Regions from separate parts of the Homo sapiens genome. Here region 1 is linked to region 2. Evidence: promoter capture Hi-C in 16 types of primary human blood cells and fetal thymus (Javierre and others, 2016). All regions are on one chromosome and are shown on one strand. The core of a region is centred on a gene start or on the middle of the fragment in contact, and the rest is flanking DNA. Distances in the headings are between cores, read along the strand shown.

Region 1 (5,182 bases), core at 1,721-4,220, 2.7 Mb before region 2:
CAAATTCAGCCTGAGTGGTCTCCTCTAAAAACACACACAAATGATTTCACTATCGTTTGAACTTACTGTATCTTACCATGCAGCATTATCATAACTACATTATAGGGCTATTTTTTCACGTGAAATTTTTACCTATCAAACTACATTATAAACTCTTCTATGTCAAAGATAGCAAACAGTTAAAATATTGATTTTTTTTTGCAACTGCAGAGGATTTTACTAAGAATAAGATATCAGCAGAGATCACTGTGTTGTAGTCTGCGACTCACCTTCACTGCCTGACTCTTGGTGTTGATAGGGGGGTTCTTCAGAGCTGCCTGTAGGGCAGCTGTCATGTTTCCTGTGATGGAAGTTAAGGGTGTAACAGCAAAGGATGGCCCCCAGGAAAGCATTATAACCACTGGTTCTTATGACTTGATTTACATATAAAAAGAAAATTACTTTGGTCACTATGTTCAATACTGGAAATTCAATGTGTTGGTTTCCAGGATGTTAATCAAAGGCAAAATATCAAAAGCAAAATAGAACATTAGACTTTTTTTTAATAAAGCAAAGACTGTTTCACCCTTGGTTCTAACTATCAAGTGAACACCTTGATAGTCTTTCATTTCCCAGTGAGATACATATGCAAACATTACCTAGAGTGGTGTTAAAGAAATCCTAAAATATATATCAGAATTATTAGTCCCCCAAATGAAATAACCTATTATCAACCAAAATATGTCTTTTCCTGTGATTCTAATTGAAAAAATAAAGACCAAACTTTTGCTAGAACCATATTCTGTATTATCTGAAATGCTGGTAGAACATGCTGGCAGATTAGCAATCTGAATGATACACATTAGCAATCTCTCAATATTGATGAAAAGAGGCATCACAGAAGATGTAATAATTCATATGTCCCTTAGGTGGCAGCTTAATTTTTTGCTTTAGATATTTTCTCTCATATTTCACAAAGGTTATTCAAACTGTGTTAGACCATACCTATTAAATTCAGGCTCTCTTTGAAAGCACTAGTGAGTTAGCAAGCATGAGAAACAGAAGGCCAATCAGACTGTCAGAATGTACAAACATTCCCCTAAAAGGAAAACCACAGAGTTCACTTGTTCCTCCAACTCTAGTACCCCACCACTAGGGCTGTCTTTCCTGGCTGTATGTAACGGTAAGAAGAGACAGTATCTTTATATTTTAAGATGAACTGATCAAAAAGCAGATCCACTGATATGGATACAGCAGTACCATTTAAAAGTCACCACAAATTACCTAAAATACACTGGGGTTTCATAAAACACCATCTATCCATCACAAATAATGTTTTTAGGAAGCATGTTCACCATTTATTTTCTAAAGAAAAAGTTCTTACACAAAATCTCTGGTTGACAAGCTGTTATTTTCAAGGCTGCAGGGATTTCTAGAGAAGCATGCCTGATGTAGATTAGCTCATTTTTTATAACTCCAAGCACTTAAGTATTTAAATAATGCAAAAGAGCAACAGCTAATTAATTGTGAAAGTTGTGGCAAAGCACTATCTATATATTGATAAATGTCTAATGCTCTATTTAGGTGCCTTTAAAAAAGGATATTGTTGCCATTAAATATTTTCACTCTCATATTTCCCCACTATAACAGGACATTGTTGAGAGTCTTCCTTATGAATACACCCAAGAATTAGAAATGCATACAAATTCAGTGTCTGAGATTTTCTAAAACTACAGCTTCGGTTTTTTTGCAACATTTACATTTTTCTAAAAAAGATGTAATGCAAATGCGAAGCCAAAGTTATGAATATTCAAATATGCAAAAACAGAAACCGGGAACTGACTGCCATATTTTAACTAAAATGGAAACAATTTTAGGATTACAAAAATGATTCTGCTTTATACGAATGACTCATCTTCTATCTTATTCATTGGGGTTTATTTTAAATATTTCCAAGGATTCTCCACACGCATTCCCCGTTGTTTTTTCTATTGTCCTTTTCTTAGCAGGTAAAAGGCTCCAAGCTTCCTTCTAGGAGTTTTGTATTTTTTGTATTCATTCCCCTCCCCCAGTTAACAAATTCTGTACAATGTATATTTTGCCAAATCCCCTTCTTCTTCTTCTTTTTTTTTTTTTTTTAAAAAGGCCAATGGGCTGAAAGCACAGGGACCCTCAATTTTCGAACAGTCCCATCTCCCCCCGCCCCCCGGTAAGGAATAAACTACCTTAACGCTACCAATAACAAAAACACAACAAAAAACAAAACCACTAAGGAAAGATGCAGGTTCCCCACAATCAGAAATTTCTGGAGCTAATGTGACCCCAGGAAATCAGAGTTCTAGGAAGAAAAACTAAGGCGCTCGGCACCAGCCTTCCCCACCAGCCGGGGCCGCCTTCCCCAGCGCCGCGAGGGCGCGGCCGGCGGGACCAGTTCCCGAGGCAGGCAGGCACTCGGGTGCAACCTGAGGAATCTGGGGGCGTGGAAGGCGCGCGGGGGAGGGCAGGCTTCCAAGAGTGGGACCCTCGCGTCTCCTGCCGACTGGGTAGGAAACGGGGGCTTCCCCCTTGCCCTCTCAGAGCGGGCGATCCCAAAGAGACAGGTTAAGCCGCAGGTTGAGAGGGCAGCTCCGCGCCGGTGCCCCGCGGATCCTGCAGGCTCCCGGGTCCCAGGAGAAGGGCGGGCTGGGCTGGGCTGGGGTGGGGAGGGCGGTGAATGCAAGGATATTGCCGCAGGCAGGAGTCCACCTCGCCCTCGTCGGGCCCGGCCTGGCCGTCGCCCCCATCTTCTTCGTCCACGAACTTGTTCTCGTCATATTCATCCACGTCCACCTTCCGGAAGCGGGCCGACGACACTGTGTTCTTCGACATCCCAATCCCGACCAGCGGCAAAGGCCTCTTCTTGGCGCTGCCTCTACCTCAGCAAGCCCAGCCCAGCAACCCACTACCCGGCGCCTGATTCACTTCCCTCTTCCGCTCTGAGGCGTCGCCGACTGCCGCGGCTCGGACCGTTCTGGGCCTGCGCGCTAGCCCCGTTTCTTCCTCCTCAGGTTCGCGCTCCCTTGGCGCCTCCCACGCTGCCCCTGCTCTTCCACGGAGAGCGCGCGCGAGGGAAGGAGCGCGCAGGACACAGCGCGCAGGCGCGGGCTCTCCGCAGGCAAGGGGCGGGGCTGGGCGAAGGAGGCGGGGGCGAGAGGGAGGGCCAAAAGCTGGACCGCGGGCAGAGGTAAGAAGCGATTGGTCGTCCGATTGCGTCACGTGATTCTCGGTGGGGGGGTTCCCATAGAAACGCTTTTCTGCGGTCCAGTCTAGGGGGTCTCAGATTGGCGGGGATGGGCAGCAGCGGCAGGTGGCCTTGGCTTTTGCTGCAGCCGTCAACGACCTATCATCGGGGTCCTGCGTAAGGTCCGGCTGGCTGGGACTTGGCTGTGGGTGGGATGGACTGGCTGCCGGACCGAGTGCCCTGCAGTTGGTAGGAGTATGAGGCAGAGTGATGCACACCCGGGCGCCCAGCATCGTTCTAATTGCCGGAGACATTGCCTCAGACTGTGCGCTGCTAGAGGCTGCGTTCCTGAGCAGGAAGCCCGTTTCCTGGGATTGGAACTACCCTTCTTGGCCAGCGGGAAGTCCCCAAGGACGGAGTCGAAAGGTCAAATCTTATCTGTCAGTGCTGTGTGACAGCATCGCAACGGGATCTGCAGAACCTGAACTCGGTATCAAATCTATTGGGAGGGAGGGGAACGTGTCCGGGCAGGCGCTGGGGTCGGGTGGCAAAACTGGGGTGAATTTGTAGAATTTGGGAAAGGGTCATTGACATCTTAAAATAGGTGGTCGTTTGGAGCAAGAATGCTCGAAAGGGGTGAGGGTAGGTTAGGCTCTCTAGTGCTGGGGGAAAACAAAATGTGGAAGGATTGGTGGAAACCAGACCTTTAAGATTTATATTATGATTTGAGATTTATATGATTCCATCTAGGCCAGATTTAAAAAAATATTTGACATCCCCATTTCTGGAATGTAGGAGATAAAGGCACTAAGACGAAGGAAATGGTAGTTGTGCTGTGTGTATTACACTGAAGAACAAATATTTGCAGGATAAAATTAATTTGGACATTTGGCTGGACACTGCTCGGTATGGGTCCAGTTTAGTTGGACCTCGAGCAGAAGACTGGCTGTTGCCCTGTTGTGTACCACAATCTTTGGTTTCCAGTGCTGTGTTGAAAAGAGCACTAGGCTTAGAATCAGAAAACTCAGGCTTAAGTGTTGACTCTTCCACTCATAATGTTTGAACGAGACATGTCACTTAAAATTCTGTCTCAGATTCCTCATCACTGAAATGGAGCTAATAATGTGCACTTTACAAGATTGTTCTTAGGATTATATATCACGAAAGTGTTTCCAAGCTCTAAAATTCTACATAAATGTAAAATGCATGTTGCTTGTACCATTGGTTTTGGGACTAGTCTTATAAATTTCTTAATGATATATGGTGTTTTATCTCCTTCCTAGAAGAGATGGAAAGATTCTGAAGGGCAGAAACAGTTTTTCTTTTGTATCTTCCTTCCATATGACAAAAAGCTAAGCATGCAGAAGGGACTCGATACATGCTTGATGAATGAATGAAATGTGAAAGACCGTACAGTTTGAGAATCATACTGAGAATAATAAATCAGAAGAGGGAGAGAGATCTCAAAATTAAATATTTGTTGGATATATACATGTAAATACATATGTCCAGTCTTCTTTAAGTTCAAAAAAATACATATATAATGTGTGTATATTTATCTATGCAGTATATTATATATAAATAGAGAGTGGGAGAGAGACCTCGAGAATGGAATACATCCCTTTTTCTTGGGAAGAAGCAATGTGGTGTTTTTCTGTTCCCAATTAAACCACTCTTCTATAAGTATATCATTTAGGTGATAGAAGTAACATTGTTTAAATTAACATTCAAGTTATGAACACACACTGGTAAAAATTCTCTTAGGAATGCCTTAAGACAGCAAAGGAAAAATTTTTACCTGTTGGCAATATTTATTTTAAAAAGCCATATACCAAAGTATAAAATCATTACTATGGTGAATGGCGTTATATAACTTAGAATAAAGATTTTACAATTTTTTTTCAGTTTCAGTCTTTGCTAACTTTAGTAGATGCTAATCAGTATACTTTAGCTGTTAAAGGTGATTGTACTTTTTCTTCTTTT
Region 2 (5,651 bases), core at 887-3,386:
GTGGCAAAAGCAATTTTAATAGCAAAATCAGAATAAGAATCCAGACCTCCTGACCATTAAATTCTGTGTTCTCACAAAATCTTTACCACTAAGTGAAAAATCAAAATATCACCATAATAAAAACCAATGATGCTTAATCAATATTTTCATGTTTAGTAAGCAAATGTTTCCAAAGTATATAAAGGAGTCTCTGAAGATTTCGATACTCCGAGAATACTTACAAAGATGAATTAAATACTTACTGAGTTTCTCTAGCTCAAGCCGCAAGCTTTGACACTCTCGGGTTTCATTCACAAGTCTCTCCTGACTGTGGGACAACCTCTTTTCTATTTCAAAATACTGTTGTTCTACAGCAGACAAGCAAAAAACAAAAAACAAAATCAAACACATGTACATACATTGTGAATACTGTTATTTATTTCTAATAACCTTGATTTTAAAACTTAAGATACAGTATTAGAATTGTGCTCCACATAAGAGAATCTGAGTAAAGATAAATAGACTGAGCACTGAAAAGGACTTAAAGCATTTCCAAACGACTTACATGACAAAAAATAAAAAATAAAAATAAGGCCTAAAAGGGGCTTTACAAATCAATGTCTTCAAGGCAGGTAACCTCATTTATCTTAGTATTTTCTCCAGACATCAGTAAACTGCTTAATAAATAAAGTATTTATTACACGAGAAAAAATTGTTTAGACAAAAAAAAACTCCTTTGTTTTAAAAGACTTCTTTTATAGTAGTCAAGATATTACCTGAAAGCATAAAACTACTAAATATATGTAAAAGTAAATGTGTAAACTTTCCAAGGGAAGGGATTGAATATCATGTTCAGCATAGTATCAGGAACATGTAAGACATTCAATATTTATGGTGCAAATTAATAAATAGAATGCAATGTACTATACTCAGCTCTGGGATCAGAGAACTAATTTTCAAGGTCAATTCTGCTTGACAGTTACACTTTTTTTGAAGTAAAAACTTGTTCAGAATTTCCAGTCAACTTAGCAAGAACAGTATGAACCTCCCCAAACAAATGGTAAACCAAAACACATTAACGGGAAGTTTGTATTTTACTAATGGTAATGACTATATTCTTCATATTTTTTTCAAGGATGTTCAAGCCATTATTGTCAGTAACTTTCTTACTTAAAGGCCTACTTTAGGTAATTACAAGAAAATTTTAATGTTTTCTATCAAACTCCAACTTTTTAAGAGAAATCAAGATATATTAAATTTATGTACTGCACATTCACTGTGTTTCCAGCGCTCTTATGCACCTAATATTCATTTTTGTAAACATCTGATTCGTTCTGGAGCCACGGGACGACGCACACACTAAGAACAAGTGCACAGAGTGGTCAATTTGGCAAAGGCCTAGAATGCAGGTGCCTAGAAAATAGGGCGGAGCCACTATCAGTTGAAGTGCAACAAAACATATAAGGTACTCTAGGCTTAGAGAGATGGGTTCGCAGACTCTATCAAGTCTGTTTCCCGTCTGCCGGACGAAGGAAAATAAGCGTCCCTGTATGAGCCTACCCTAACTACAAAGAAAATGCTACTGAACTTAGATTCAGATTTTTTTTTCAAAGGCTTCTTATCAAACTGTAAGGAGCAGGAAAGCGAAGGCTCAGGATATCCACAGAGCCCAGGAAGTGAGGTTAACAGAGCGGTACCCAGTGCCAACTTGATGGGGGAAGACCAGACCCAAAGGGCGGGAGTCGAGCCCAAAACCAAGGACGGAAAGAGCATCTCACTTACCGCTCTCCACCTTAAATTTCTCATGCCGCCCCTTCAGGCCATCGATCTCGGATTGCTGATCAGCAAGGAACTTTTCAAGTTTGTTCTGGACAGACTTGGGCAGCTTGTTCAGCTCCGTGCGCTCCAGGACTTGCTGCAACACCGCCGCCATGTCGGTGGGGCCAGGGACCCCAGTGGCAGCGGCCGACGGGGTAGAAGCGGAGAAGAAAGGCGAAGACCAGCAGGACCCAGACGCCTGGGCCGCCGCCTCTATCACCTCGCTCGGTGGCTCGCGCGCGCCCGCCCGCCGGAGACTCCCGCGGCGGGACCCTGGGAAATCGAGTCCACCCTCAGCGGCAGCGTTTCAGCAACAGCACCTCACCGCCCGCGACCGAAGTGCGCGCGCAGCCGTTGGAAGCTACGAACCCTGGGAACCCGAGCTCAGAGGCTATCCCTGATCCTCTTGCGCACCCAATTTTCCGGCTTCCAGCTCCACCCACTTCAGGCCTTGTAGGGCTCTGGGAAATGTAGTGTTTTTCTCATTCTTTTCCGGGAGCCCAATGCTGCACCGCCCTCTCAGCTTCCGTTTTTCTCCCCGCTCCCCTGGCTCTCCTATCTCGGCCCCGTAACCGCTGTCCGCACGGTGGCGCCACATACGTACTCGTCACCCCTTGGCCCTCCCTGAAGAGCTGGTGACCTTACCGTCAAAGCCCCGGGATGCCATGGATCGTCCTCGTTGGCGGCTTCTGGACACTGAGCCACTAGAGGGCATCGGTCCCGGTAGGGCCGGACGGCAGGCTCCGGGATACCGCCACGCTCTCTATGGCGCCCAGAAGGGGGCGGGGTGGCGACCGCAGTCGCTTTGGCTGAGGCTCTGCGGGGAAGGGAGGGGGGGCTTTTACGTCATCAATCTGCGCCACCTGACTCCCAAGTCCCTGGCTTTGGAGTGGGAAGTGAGGTGTGGGAAGTAGGTCGCTTTCTGATGAATTCAGTGGCAGTGAATTGAGACCGGAGGGAATCTGGCCCCTAGAGGCTGGTACTTGGGCCCGAAACCCCCATCTCCGGCGGAGAGACCGTCCGAGGTAATTGTCTGCCACGAGTGCACATTCTGAAAACAGGTAAGTCAGCCTAAGTGTAGTGTGTGTGTGTGTGTGTGTGTGTGTGTGCTCTCTTTTCAAGAGAAAAAGGAAGGGACAGTGTTGGAACCATATGGACAGTCACTCCGGCACACACTTCTGACGAACTTACCTTGTGTGAAACGGCGTACCTAAATGGTTTTTGGTGGTGGGGAGGTGGCACTGAGTGATTCAGTACCCGGGAATTTAAGGACCCGGGTTAATTCTTCAGGAGGAGAATTAAAAGAAACCGGTAGCACTTTGAGTGTAGCCTATGTTTTAAATTTTTCGTTGCAGAAACGGTTACCTAACATTATATTGTTTTTAAAATTGAAAACTGTTGTAACTGAAGTTTTTAAACACATTGTTAATTTCTACAGTAACAGAACTTGTATGGTTCCAGATCATAATTCTGTAGTTTTAAAGCTCAATCCGTAGATTGTTTCGTGTTTACTCTTATGAAAGAATTTGTTAAATTATTCATTGTAAATAATGCATTCCCAGTGTCGTCTCTCTGCAGTTCCCACAGTCGTGGGCCTTCTGTGAATTGGTGATTTAGTTCTTATATGAAATTTATTCTTTTTCTCTAGTTCTTACTTTTGAATCATGTTGTGAAGCCGTCTAAGAAATATAAATGGAAGCATTTTATGATATTTTGTAATAACTAAGGAAAAATAAATCAACAGCGGAGCTTAAGGTTGATTTTTCCCCAAAAATATTTTTTAGATAAGCATTGTAATTAAAGTTGCTGGTATATGAAGTATTATGCTATGTCCTAAGCCCACAGTATTATCATACTGTTGATCTGTCATTTGGGAAATGTAGATTTTTCTGTACTTAGATTCACAGAATCCTAAAATTAGATAGGTTTTCAGATCTGCTAGGATTCAAATGCTTTATTTTATAGATTAGGAAACCAGAGCCCAGAAAGGTTGAGTTGTGTCAGTCACAGTGCTTGGACCACAAAGGCTTTGGCTGATATACAACATTTCTGGAAAATTATGACCCTATAAGGCAAAATACAGTTGTCCCTTGGTATCCGTGGGGCATTGGTTCCAGGACCCTCTCACCTGCCCACCCCATGGATATGAAATCCATGGATGCTCCAGTTCCTTATATTAAATGGTGTAGCATTTGCATATCTTAAATCATCTCTAAGTTACTTATAATACCTAATACAATGTAAATGCTATAGTTGTTATATTATATTGTTTAGGGAATAGTGACAAGAAAAAACATCTTTAATGATACAGATGTAATCATGCTTTAAAAAAATAATTTTTCAATCTGTGGTTGGTTGAATACATGGAAGTGGAAACCACAGATGTGGAAAGCTGACTATATACATTTTTAGTACTGCCTTTTATAAAGTATGGTTGACTACATTTAAAAATTTTGAAAGAGCACTAAAGAAAAATTTATCTGACATTCAATCAGATTTCATAATTGAATAGATTTTCATCTCCCTATTACATTCAGTTTCTTACACATTAATATGGCTACTAGGTGACACCCTAGAAGAAATAAGGTTAAAAGGTTAAATATAACTTTAGAATTACTTGTATTTGTTGCAAGAATTAAGAATTATTAGACCAGAAGGAAAAGGAGTATAATATGATATAGAGGAAAGTAGATACATAGAATTGCATACCTTAAGGCATTACTAAAAGGTAAAAGCCCTTAACTTCACAGAGGCAACAGTGATATTTAGACAAGCATTCCTAGACTTAGTCTCTAAAAAATGATATGCAAATCTGATTCACGTCTATTGTTGTCAAAAAAGAGCTAGGAAGGCCAGGCATGGTGACTCACACCTGTAATCCCAGCACTTTGGGAGGCCAAGGCAGGCAGATCACACGGTCAGGAGATCGAGACTATCCTGGCTAACACGGTGAAACCCCGTCTCTACTAAAAATACAAAAAATTAGCCGAGTGTGGTGGCGGGTGCCTGTAGTCCCAGCTACTTGGGAGGCTGAGGCAGGAGAATGGCGTGAACCTGGGAGGTGGAGCTTGCATTGAGCCGAGATCGCGCCACTGCACTCCAGCCTGGGCAACAGAGCAAGACTCCATCTCAAAAAACAAAAAAAAAAAAGAGCCAGGAAGAAATTAATGTATTTTGAGACAAAACTGAACAAGCTCATTGAAACAATAAGGAAACAGCCTCCAGTAGGACATTTCAGACTTGAATCCATTCTCTGGGCTTTAGTTTTAAAATGCAAAACCGTTTTGTGACTGACAGTTTACTGGTATCAGATATACCACCCCAGCATATCTCTGGTAGCCTTAACTTTGTGGTACTGAATAAGATTCACATTTTTAACAGAATCCAAATGATGATGATTCCTAAATTGCAGTGTTCAAAATACTGTAACTGTGTTCCTGCAGTCTCTGTTTGTTTTATAGCTCTTTTGGATATCATCTCTTTTACATTTTCATCCTCACTGATTATGAACTCCTTGATTTAATCATTCATTATATTGCCTAGCTCTTTTATTCAATATCTTTGGTTTTAAGCTATAGAAATGCAAATCAAAGGAGCATAAGCCAATAGAGGGAATGAATATACTGACTTCCATCCACAGACCAGAGGGAAAACAGAGTAAGAGCTACCCGTAGTAATGATTTAATTGAAGGACTGGTTACGATTCCTCATTATGAGCGTGGTGTTGAAAAACATGGATTCTAGAGCCAGAGTGTCTGAATTTAAGTCCCTCCTTTGCCACTTACCCAGCTTTGTCACTTTGGCAAGTTATTTAATCAACTTTTCTCATTTCAGTTTCTTCATCTATAAAATGA

Evidence for each region. Contacts are between HindIII fragments. The CHiCAGO score rates a contact against its expected background, and 5 or more counts as called.
Region 1: a contact is called between the fragment with the promoter of ARPC5 here and the fragment with the promoter of TPR in region 2, in 1 of 17 cell types (naive CD8 T cells). The highest score is 7.8, in naive CD8 T cells.

The regions. Positions count from the first base shown.
Region 1 is chr1:183,632,813-183,637,994 of GRCh38, forward strand. ARPC5 (actin related protein 2/3 complex subunit 5) reads right to left here and starts at 2,971. Exons shown (of 4, transcript NM_005717.4): 1 at 2,705-2,971; 2 at 270-342. The coding sequence starts at 2,847. It also overlaps a transcript of RGL1 not described here. RefSeq lists enhancers at 2,167-2,667, 2,665-2,944 and silencers at 2,255-2,473, 2,425-2,484, 2,565-2,614, 3,095-3,254. The HindIII fragment of the contact is 3,712 bases long and covers 2,002-5,182 here.
Region 2 is chr1:186,373,117-186,378,767 of GRCh38, forward strand. It overlaps TPR (translocated promoter region, nuclear basket protein), which reads right to left and starts at 2,137. Exons shown (of 51, transcript NM_003292.3): 1 at 1,762-2,137; 2 at 243-347. The coding sequence starts at 1,912. It overlaps ODR4 (odr-4 GPCR localization factor homolog), which reads left to right and starts at 2,722. Exons shown (of 14, transcript NM_017847.6): 1 at 2,722-2,858. RefSeq lists a silencer at 1,272-1,321 and enhancers at 1,882-2,181, 2,342-2,391, 2,562-2,751. The HindIII fragment of the contact is 6,872 bases long and covers 267-5,651 here.